2 separate regions of the Homo sapiens genome follow, and region 1 is linked to region 2. Evidence: promoter capture Hi-C in 16 types of primary human blood cells and fetal thymus (Javierre and others, 2016). All regions are on one chromosome and are shown on one strand. Each heading gives the region's core, a stretch centred on a gene start or on the middle of the fragment in contact. The rest is flanking DNA. Distances are from core to core; before and after follow the strand shown. Region 1 overlaps RNF217-AS1 (RNF217 antisense RNA 1). Region 2 holds the start of SMPDL3A (sphingomyelin phosphodiesterase acid like 3A).

Region 1 (5,276 bases), core at 1,198-3,697, 2.2 Mb before region 2:
GGTAGTTATATTTTTAGTTTTTTGAGAAACTTCCAGACTATTTTCTATAATGACTATACATATTTATGTTCCCATCAAGAGTGTATAAAATTTCCCTCTTCTATGCATCCTGGCCACCTTTTGTTATTTTTTGTCTTTTTGATAATAGTCATTCTAACTGTGGTAAGATGATGTCTCATTGTGGTTTTGATCTGCATTTCTCTGGTGATTGATGATGCTGGGCATTTTTTAAATAAACTTGTTAGCCATTTGTATGACTTCTTTTGAGAAAGAAAGTCTATATAAAAGAAAGTCTTTTGAGTTGATTTTTGTGATCAACTGTGTGAGTGATAGGTGTCTAGTTTCATTCTTATGCATAGGGATTTCCAGTTTTCTCGGCATCATTTATTGAAGAGAATGTCTTTTCCCCAATGTTTATTCTTGGCACCTTTGTTGGAAATTAGTTGGCCATAAATATGTGGACTTAATAATATTTCTGGATTCTCTATTTTGTTTCATTGGTCTATGAGTCTGTCTGTTTTTATACAGACTTTCTTTTATACAGACAAGAAATGTCTGTTAATGTCCTTTGCCCAATTTTTAGTGCAATTATTATATATATTATACTGTTGAGTTTTTTGAGTTCCTTGTATATTCTGGGTATTAGTCCCTTGTGGGATGAATAGTTTGCAAATATTTCCTCCCATTCTGCAGTTTGTGTCTTTGCTCTCTTGATTGTTTCCTTTGCTGTGCATAAGTGTTTTAGTTTGCTCTAATCCCATTTGTCTATTTTTCCCTTTGTTGTCTTTGTTTTTGCAGTCTTAGTCATAAAATTATTGCCTAGACCAATCTCCTACAGCATTTCCCTTATGGCTTCTTGTAGTAGTTTTATAATTTCAGGATTTACATTTGTATTTAATCCTTTTTGAGTTGATTTTTGTATATGGTGAGTCATAGGGATCTAGTATTATTATTCTGTATATGGTGAGTGATAGGGATCTAGTTTTATTATTCTGTATATGGATTTCCAGTTTTCTCAGCACCATTTATTGAAGAGGGTGTCCTTTCCACAGTGTTTATTCTTAGTGCCTTTGTTGAAAAATCAGTTGGCTGTAAATATGCAGACTTATTTCTGGATCTCTATTCTGCTTCATTGGTCTAGAGTCTGTGTTTATAACACTACCATGCTGGTTTGGTTGCTATGGCATTGTAATATAATTTGAAGTCAGGTAGTGTGACGCTTTCAGCTTTGTTCTTTTTGCTCGGCATTGCTTTGGATACTTGGGCTCTTTTTCTGTTCCATTTGAATTTTATGTTTTTTTCTCTATTTCCATGAAAAATAACGTTAGTATTTTGATAGAGATTGCATTGAATTTGTAGATTGCTTTAGGTAATATGGTCATTTTAACGATGTTTGTTCTCCTTATCCATGAGCATGGGATGTCTGTCCATTTGTTTGTGTCCTCTTTAGTTTCTTTCATCAGTGTTTCACAGATTTTTTTCTAGAGATCTTTTATCATCTTGGTTAAATGTATTCATAGGTATTTTATTTATTTATTTATTTTTAAATATTGCAAACAGGATTATCTTCTTGATTTCTTTCTCAGCTACTTCATTATTGTTGTTCAGAAGTGCTACTGATCTGTGTATGTTGGTTTTGTATCCTATAACTTTGCTGAATTTATCTATCATAACTAGGAGTTTCTTTGATGCCTTTACTCATCTCTTCTCCTTCAGGAACACCCAAAATTTGAATATTTGGTCACTTCTTTGTCTCATATGTTATGTAGGCTTTGTTCTTTTTTATTCTTTTTTGTTTTTTGTCTGATGGGATTATCACAAAAGGCATCTTCAAGTTCAGAAATTCTTTTTTCTGCTTGACTTAGTGGATTTTGAAGCTCTACATTGTATTTCTTATTTCATTCATTGACTTATTCAGTTTTGGATTTCTGTTGGTCCTTTTCTATGATATCTCTTTGTTGAGTTTTTCATTCAGATCATGAACTGTTTTTTCTGATTTGTTTGTGTTTTTAAATCTATGTCCTTTTGTATCTCACCGAGCTTCTTTAATTTCATTATTTTGAATTCGTTTTCAGTCAATTGATTTCTTTTTTGTTGGAATCTGTTGCTGAAGAATTATTATGTTCCTTTGGAGGTGTCATGTTTCCTTGCCTTTTCATGTTTCTTGCATCCTTGCATTGATACGTGCACATGTCATGTAACAGTCACTTCTTAATTTTTTGGATTGGCTTTTGTAAGGAAAGACTTTTTCCTATAGATGTGTCTATGGTGTTGGTTGGGTAGGGCACTTTAGCTTTGATTCTGGGTGTGTGTAGTTTCTGTATGATTTCTTCAGCTGTAATCAGCATCAGTGGTATTTTTGAGTTTTCCTCAGTGACTTAGGTTGCAATTGTTAGTGGAGGATATGGTGAGGCTATTTTGGGATGGGAGACACCAGTTGGGTAGGTTATTGAGCTCTGATGGTGATGGTGGTGGCAGGACAATTGGGCCCATCCTTGGGCCCCCAGGTGTATACACCGTTACTGGTATTTGCAAGTCCAGGCAGGCAGCCAGGCAGCTTGCTTAGGTTCCAACAGTGGCAGAGGTGGGTCAAGCAAGTGGGCATGTCCATAGGCCCCTTGGTGGCATGTGTGGTATGGACAATGACAGTAACAGTGACAGGCCAATACTCAGGCCCTCATGCACTACTGGTGGTTGCACATTGGTGGGTGGCAGCCTTTGTGGTAGTGGCAGGCTGGGAGGACCCATCCTCAAGCCCCCAGGAGAATTGCACAGACATCAGTAATGGCAGACTGTGTAATCAATCCCTAGGCCCCCAGATGACACGTGCAAGTACTGACAGGCCTCGCACCAGGCAGGACTGTTCTGTCCTCAGGCCCCAGGTGTTACACGTGGGTGCAGGCTGTGGTGGGTGGGACTGTTCAATTCTCAGGCTCCCAGTTTATTTGCACAGGTGTTGGCAGGCTGGGCAGGCCTGTCCTCAGGCCTCTGGAAAGCATGCATAGACACTGGTGGCAGCAAATGAGGTGCGTCAATTCCAAGGCCCCCAGAGAGCATGCTTTGGCACGATTGGCAGGTAGGCTGGGTCTGTCGTTAGGCCCAGCTGGCAATGACAAACCTACTGATGTTGTGTGCATATGCCAATGGTTCAGGCAGGGCAGGTCAATCTCCAGGACTGCAGATGGCACACCTGAGCACTGGAAAGCATGATGCCAAGCATGGCAGGCCTGTCCTTGGGTCCCCAATAGTGTACGCGTGCACAGGCTGTAGTGTGTGAGGCGGGGCAATCCCCAGTGTCCCAGACAGCCTGCATAGGCACCAGTGGTAGGTAGACTGGCTCTGCTGTTAGGCCCCCTGATAACGCATTCATATAGCAGAAGCAGCAGGCAGGGTGGGTTGGTCCCCAAGCCTTCAGCTGTTGTGCTTGGGTGATAGCAGCAGTGAGTAAGACTGGCCTGTCCTCAGGCCCTTGGATGACATCTGCCTGGACCAGTCACCAGGTCCATTGAAGGCACATACATGTGCATGGTGGCCCTTCTGCTGGGGTGACTGGGCTGGCTGTCAGTGGCAGTGGTGTTCTTCAGGCTCTGGGGAGTGCACATTTTGCCTTACTTCTTCCTGGGTGCATCCTCCCCAGTGTGCTGCACTGCCTGTTCCCCGGGGTGTAAGACTCTGCATGGGCTAGAGGGCTTGGAACGCAGCAGCACCATTAGGTTCAGCCAGCGTCTCCGTGTTGCAGCGCTCTGGGTTGTCATGGGGGATTATCAATATTGGCAGGGTTCCAGGAATGTGAAGATGCAGGGCTTTTGGGCCCCAGGGCAGGATGTAGGCTAGTGGGGGCTCTCAAAATAGCACCACGCTGCTTGGGTCTGGGGAATGTGTTAGACCCAGCAAGAGCTCCCATCTGGAACAGTTGTGTTGCAAGGACCCCAGGCAGCTCCCTATACTATTCTCAGTTCTCAGGACTGCAGGAGTCTACTTCTAGGGATCTCTCCCTTACCCTTTCCCCACACTGGGGAGCCTCTTTTGGCTCCTCTCAGGTCCCAGCTGGGCCAGCTGCCTTGTTTCTCTCTCCTTCCATGCCTCAGATATTCCATGTCACTTCCTTGCTGAATTCCAGTGTTCTCTCTTCGATGCTGTATTCGATCTATGTTTATCTACTTACTGTTTTCCTCCTTCTCTGTGGAGGAGATGAGTGCTGGGTGCCTCTAGTTAGCCATTTTGAACTGTCTGAAATTTTTTATCCAGACGTTAAAGAGTTGAGATTTATTAACTCATTAAAAATGTTATGTTATATCAGAAAAACTATGACTCATTTTAGTTTTACATATCAAAGCCAAAACTAATTTCTTCTAAACTATTGTGGAGAAAAAATACATAATATTTAAATGCCATGAAACAATTACAGCAAATACCTGACTTGTTTTTCTACCAATCTCTCAATTATCAAAATAGGTATAAAAATATAGAAATAATTTAATTTAAAAAATCAATTCCTGAAAAGCAATGTCTGTGGTGGAATTTTTTCTACGTCTGCTTCTGAAAGTTGTAGTGTGATGTTCATCCTGCCTTTCCTATTTCTTCCCTCTTATATGTGGAGGAAGAGAATTTGGAATCATGAAAGGAAGAGTTCATCAGGTGGAAAAGAGAGGAATACAATCATTTCACTTTCTTTTTCCACCTAAATCCCCTAAGGAAAAATCCAAATAGCCAACTTGTATGAGATAAAGTTAAAAATAAAACAAAACAGTATAATTTGTTTAAATTTTAAAAGTAATGAAAACCCAAATGCTTAGAACACAAAGGAAACCAAGAAGAGGGAAGAAGAGGAGAAAAGGAGGAAGGAAATAAGGGAAGGAAGGAGAGAGAGGAGAAGGGAGGAAGGCAGGCGGGCAGGCAGGAAGGAAAAAAGGTCTTCACTTGAACTTATTACCCAAAATAACTACTTTAACACATTGGTATATTTCTTTCTAGTGTTTGCATTTGTGTGTATAAAATATATATTAATAAGTGGCACTATTGCCAAAATAAAATAATAATACTCCTTTCCTGCTTTTGTTAATTAGTAATGTATCCTCAACATTTTTCATGCAACTAATGCATCTTTACATTATCATGATTCGCAGCCATACAGTATTTTACTATATAGTGATGTCATAATTTATTTAACTAATTCCATTATATTAAAAATATATCATTCATGATTTCAATAAAATATATAAAATATATGTTAATATATCATATATAATGAATATATTTTATTAACATATAACATG
Region 2 (5,481 bases), core at 1,559-4,058:
AGTTCAAAGTCCAAAGTTCTGTTTACTACAGCACGTTTTCCTGTTCTGCAGACTATCTTTAAAAAGATTTCCAAGTCGGGCGCGGTGGCTCATGCCTGTAATCCCAGCACTTTGGGAGGCTGAGATGGGCAGATCACGAGGTCAGGAAATTGAGACCATCCTGGCTAACACGGTGAAACCCCGTCTCTACTAAAAGTACAAAAAATTAGCCAGGCATGGTGGCGGGCGCCTGTAGTCCCAGCTACTCGGGAGGCTGAGGCAGGAGAATGGCGTGAACCCGGGAGGCGGAGTTTGCAGTGAGCCGAGATTGCGCCACTGCAGTCCAGCCTGGGTGACAGGGCGAGACTGTCTCAAAATAAAAAATAAAATAAAATAATAAAATAAATTTTTAAAAAGACTTCCAAAAATATGTGTGTGTGTTCAGCAAATCTAGAAAAACTCTCAAAATTATACCAGAAAATCTTTTAATCCAAAATATTTTATAACTTCTCAAGAATCCAATGAACCATAGTTCAGACATAATTCAGCTCGCCTTATGCCTTATTTGAACATAGTTTGAACACTCAGCAGTATATGAATGGTTGAAGTATGGCTGCTGGGATTGGCCAAACTTAGCTATTGTTACCAGTGCATACTCTTAAGTTAGGTTTTCAGTCTCATCTGACTATTAAGCTAGGTTACAGTTCATTCACAAGGATTCAAATATAGAAGTAAGGAGTCCTTCTCAGGCCGTATTTAGTTTGCTTTAACAGTACCAATACACAAGCCAGTCCCAGCCTACTCAATCTAAAGAACTGTAGCCAAAAACACACAGGTGAAGCTTCCTAGAACTTCTGTCGTCCGACCACCAGGACTTGACAGGGCAGAAAACTAAGACTGGGAATTTAAACGCAAAAACACAAAACAAGAAAGCAGTAGCCAGGCAGGGTGGATGCTGAAAGGAAGTCCAAGCATGTGGGGCTGAGAGGAGGCAGGAGAGTTGTCACATCAAGTGGAAAATACGCAAAATATTACAAACAAGGAGAATTGTGAAACTGCTGAGTGAACACTTCAGACCTTTGAACTCCAGTAACACTTCAGACTTTCGAACTCCAGTGACTCCAGTAACACTTCAGACCACTGAACTCCAGTAACCCCTCTTCCTTCCCCTTTAGTAGGAGGGGATTCAACCTTGCAGTTTCCCAAACAGGAGGTGTGAAGACTCACAGAGTCCCCAGAAAGCGCTCATTCAGGCCTCTTTAAAACACAGGTGAATTTGCCATTGTGTGGCCTCAAGCAACGTGAGACATTTTATTTCAAAACCCTAACCGGTCACATAATTAAAGGAACACAAGCTAAGCCGTAATAAAAGCAGAAACCAGTATACATAAACATTTTGGGGAAATTTCTTGTAATGACTGACATTTGCCACAGTTCGGAAACCAGATTTACAGTTTTTGCTTCAGACCTGACAGCTGAGTCGTGAGGACTTGGCCTTCAAAGAGAAGATATTTGCCCTAGAGCGCTCCCAAGTCCTGAGAAAGCACAGAGGGAGCGAAAGAGGTTTCAGCACTAGGTGCTGCTACCGAGTCTCAGGGACAACTCTCCCCTAAAAGAAAACAGAACCCCACTTCTCTAATTTTGTTTTTCCTCTTAACAGTGCAATTATTTTTAAAGGGAGTTGAGGAGGTGAGGGCACCTTGATTTTTGGAACTGGAGGCTCGGATGGCATTGTACAATCTCCCACCAAAATGTATCTATTCTGGACCAGTGAGTCTCAAACTTAGCCGAAAGGAATCATGCGGAGGGTGGGTTAAACAGCATACTGTGGAAGCCCAACGCCGGCGTTTCAGATTCAGTAGGTCTGGGATGGGCTGGAAATTTGCAATGCTAACAATTTTAAGTGCGGCGGCTGCTGCCACCGGTCCAGGGCACACTTAAGAGAATCACTACTGTAACGGGCACTGTGTTAAGTGCTGGGAGTGAATAAAATGGGTCCCGCCCGCAGGAAACCTAGTGGACATCCAGGTGAAATGAAGTCCCCGTGAGTTCCACGGTAGACTAAGGGGTGAGTCTACCCGAGGGTGCTTTCGCGCTCTGGCTGGGTGAGTGGCAGAAAAAGCCACTGATCTCGGTCGAGCAAGACAGAAGATAGTGTGAGTCACGCTGAAATTTACTTCCCTGAGCTGGTGGGGAAACTGCAGTCCCCCTCCATTCAGGACCGATTAGGGGCCTCTTGCTGTGCTGGACATCGGACTCCCAGCTTCCTCTTCCCTTGAGTCCCGCAGCTTTTCCTTCCTTCCCCAAGGAACAAAACAACTGAGATGCAGGATGTAAACAAAAGCCAGGCTGGCGAAATCCGGCCGACGCGCCCTTGGAGCGCCCCCACCGGCGAGGGCATTTCCCCCGCCCAGCCCCGGCCTCCCGGCTGGACGCCCTAACGCTGTAGTCCCTTGGTCGCCCTCCCCGCGCCCACCAGCCGTGGTCAACGCCGGACGCGTCAGGGGCCCCGCTAGCCCGAGCCTCTGCCGGGGGCAGCTGCCCCCACGCACTTTCTCCTGCTGTGCGCAGGCGCCGCCGCTCCGCGCTCTTTGCCGGCTGGGAAGAGAAGGGTCGCGGACAACTCACCTATCGCCGGAGGAGGATTCCTGCCGCCTGCGGGCGCCACGGGCAGCCCGAGGCCGGAGCGGCAGTGCCAGGCAGTCAGCAGGCAGCAGACGAGTGCGCGCACCAGCGCCATGGAGGGCCGCGGGGCTGACCTGGAGGTTCGGGCTGTCCCGCAGCTCCACTCGGACCGTCAGGCCTGAGGGTGAGGCGGAGACAGAAGACGGCTGCGGGTGTAGACGTCCGACTGATCACGTGCAAAGGCAGATTCCGCAGCGAGTCAGTTCGCCTGACCTTCAGCTGCTGTTTAGCGATGATCTGTTCTCGTATTTCTTAGCGTCAGTGTTTGGCCTAGGAAGGAATGTACTTGTAGAAGCTCAAATTCCGACTCGTGTATCAGTGGTGCAGTTGATGTCAAACACTGACATACTGGTGCTTGGGGATAGAGAAAGACATTCAATTTAGTAAAAGCCAGAAGGAGGGAGAACAAGATCTCTCAAATCCGTGTGTAAAAAGGAAAAAGCAGGGAGTTTTTATTCTGCTAGAGAATAAGAGAGGGGGATTTTCAAAGAATCCAGGGGAAAAGTCTGTTTCTTCAGTCTCAGATAACACCTTTGAGCAATTAGACGTCCAGGCATCCGCAGCTGGTTGCAAAGCCCTTGGAGGTATTCATCCCTTCTGCAAACATTTTTGTGACCCTGAAGTTAACCTCTTTGTTCTTGACGAGGAAGCAGTACCTCAGCAGTTTATAATTATATTGTGGAAACAAGGAGAATATTGGGCAAAAAGCGAGTGGTTAAAATGTGCAAGCAAGCAGGAGCCTGATCAGAATTTTCATTATTTCAGTCACTAAAAAATGCTGGGGTGCTGAAATCTCAACGATCCCGGTTCCATTCTTGGGCCAACCTACCCCAGCTTTAATGGGTAGGGCTCCTCAGTAGAGGTGATGCAGAGAGCCCTGAAGTATCATGATTTGAAGGAAATCAGCAAAAGTTATGGATACTGCAGTGGATCTCGAATTGAAGTCTCTGAACTGGGAACATTAGCACCACCTGGGAACTCTAGTTAGAAATGCAAATTCCCAGGCACCACCCTAGACCTGTTGAGTCAGAAACCTGCTGGAGCCCAGCAGTTTGTGTTTTCACAAGCATTTCAGGTCATGTTAAAGTGATTGTGATGTTTGAAAACCAATGCTCAAAGATACGACGTTTTGTTTTTTGTTTTTTTTAAACTGCCGGGAAGAGAAGGGTCTTAGAATTAGAACATGTTCTGAAATCATGCTTTATGCATTCCAGAGATGCATGGAAATCATAAGTAGAGGTGGTTGATTTGATGCTTCCACGGAACTTTTTTGAATATACTTCTGGCAAAGAAGTAAGTCTATACAAAGAAGTAAGCAAAGATAAGTCTGGCAAAGAAGTAAGTCTATACAAAGAAGTAAGCAAAGATAAGTCTGGCAAAGAAGCCAGAATCCCGAAACTGTGCTGGATCCTGTATTCTGTGTTCCTTCTCTCACCGTTTATGAGGATGCTGATCTCTTGGAGATGACAAGCTAATAATTTAAATTTATAGGGCGTGGAATTCCTTTGCAGAAGAAAATGCTTTCCATAATTACTAACCTCAAAAAAGATGTTGTAGAGTGTATTTCTTTCCCAGCATAGAAAGCTTTGTTTTGTATCCCATGTAATTTAATGGGAGTGTGTGTCATGAAACGGGCTTTGAAGTGGGAAGCAAGGTGCTTCCATTTTCTGTTTTGTAAACCAAAAATAAAATTTGAAGGCCCCCCACAACCATCTGAATGGACGACCATCTGTATGGACTCTTTCCCCAGTCAGGGCACTCTAAAATTTAACCTGAAAGACTGGTTCAGGCCATGAAAAAGGGGATGGGGGGGTTGGACATGCGTAATTAACATCAACATAGACCATAAGTCTGATAAGAAACATTTAAGATCTGTTTTCTCTAAAGCCTGCTACGTGGAGGCTTCGTCTGTGTGACAAAATCTGGGTCTAACAACCCCTTATCATAACCCAGACATCCTTTCTATTGATAATAACTTTTTCAATCAACCAATTGCCAATCAGGACATGTTTAAATCTTCCTGTGATCTGGAAACACCCACCCCCCGCCCAGCTTCAAGTTGTCCTGCCCGTCTAGATCGAACCAATGTAAAAATCTTACATGTATTGATTGCTGTATCATGTCTCCCTAAAATGTATAAAAGCAAGCTGTATCCTGACCACCTTGGGCACATGTCAAGACCTCCTGAGGCTGTGTCACTGGCCCATCCTTAACCTTGGCAAAATAAACTTCCTAAATTGATTGAGACCTGTCTCAGGTACTTTTGTGTTACAGTTTCAAGTCCTGCCAGGGCAGCCGAAGTCCTGCTTCAGCTTTTGGATGATTCAAAAGCTTGCAAGAACCAAAGTGCATTCCAGTGGAGGACAAGATGGTCCCTGGAGTTTCTCAGTTCACAACCTCTAGAATATGGGAGAAAATGGAGCCAGAAAAAACTGGTGAGCTGGTGAGAGAAAACGACTGTAAGGATTAACAAAACAACTTAGGAGTTTTTAGTCCAAACATTTAAAGCTAGGAAAAGGATAAATTATAAAAATAGCTCTTTTCACTCCTTTTTTTTTTTTTTCCAATTTCAATATACTTTACTGGAAGTAACTGGTTGCAAAATAGTTTTTCAGTAAGCATAAAACAAGGCATACACATTTTGAAACTTAAGAAATGTTTGAAATCCTAAAAAGTACAGTATATTAAAATTAGTGGGTAGAAACACCATCCTTCTTTCTACTCACTCCACTTTCTTTTTTTTTTTCTTAATACTCACTAAGAAGCAAAAAACTACAGTGCCCCAACATCTCTACAGGCATATCTCAACCATGGGCA

What was found. The method cuts DNA at HindIII sites, captures the fragments that hold promoters and counts their contacts. A CHiCAGO score of 5 or more calls a contact.
Region 1: a fragment that was not itself captured here is called in contact with the fragment with the promoter of SMPDL3A in region 2 in 1 of 17 cell types (M0 macrophages); the score reaches 6.5 in M0 macrophages.

The regions. Positions count from the first base shown.
Region 1 is chr6:124,953,869-124,959,144 of GRCh38, reverse strand. All of the region lies in intron 1 of RNF217-AS1 (RNF217 antisense RNA 1), which reads left to right. Among named protein-coding and RNA genes, the nearest start is that of RNF217, 5.9 kb to the left of the region's middle. RefSeq lists enhancers at 2,654-3,242, 3,243-3,832. The HindIII fragment of the contact is 6,758 bases long and covers 1-5,276 here.
Region 2 is chr6:122,786,585-122,792,065 of GRCh38, reverse strand. It overlaps SMPDL3A (sphingomyelin phosphodiesterase acid like 3A), which reads right to left and starts at 2,808. Exons shown (of 8, transcript NM_006714.5): 1 at 2,608-2,808. The coding sequence starts at 2,719. RefSeq lists a cis regulatory region at 808, enhancers at 724-893, 1,997-2,496, 2,497-2,998 and silencers at 1,088-1,382, 2,488-2,782. The HindIII fragment of the contact is 3,428 bases long and covers 823-4,250 here.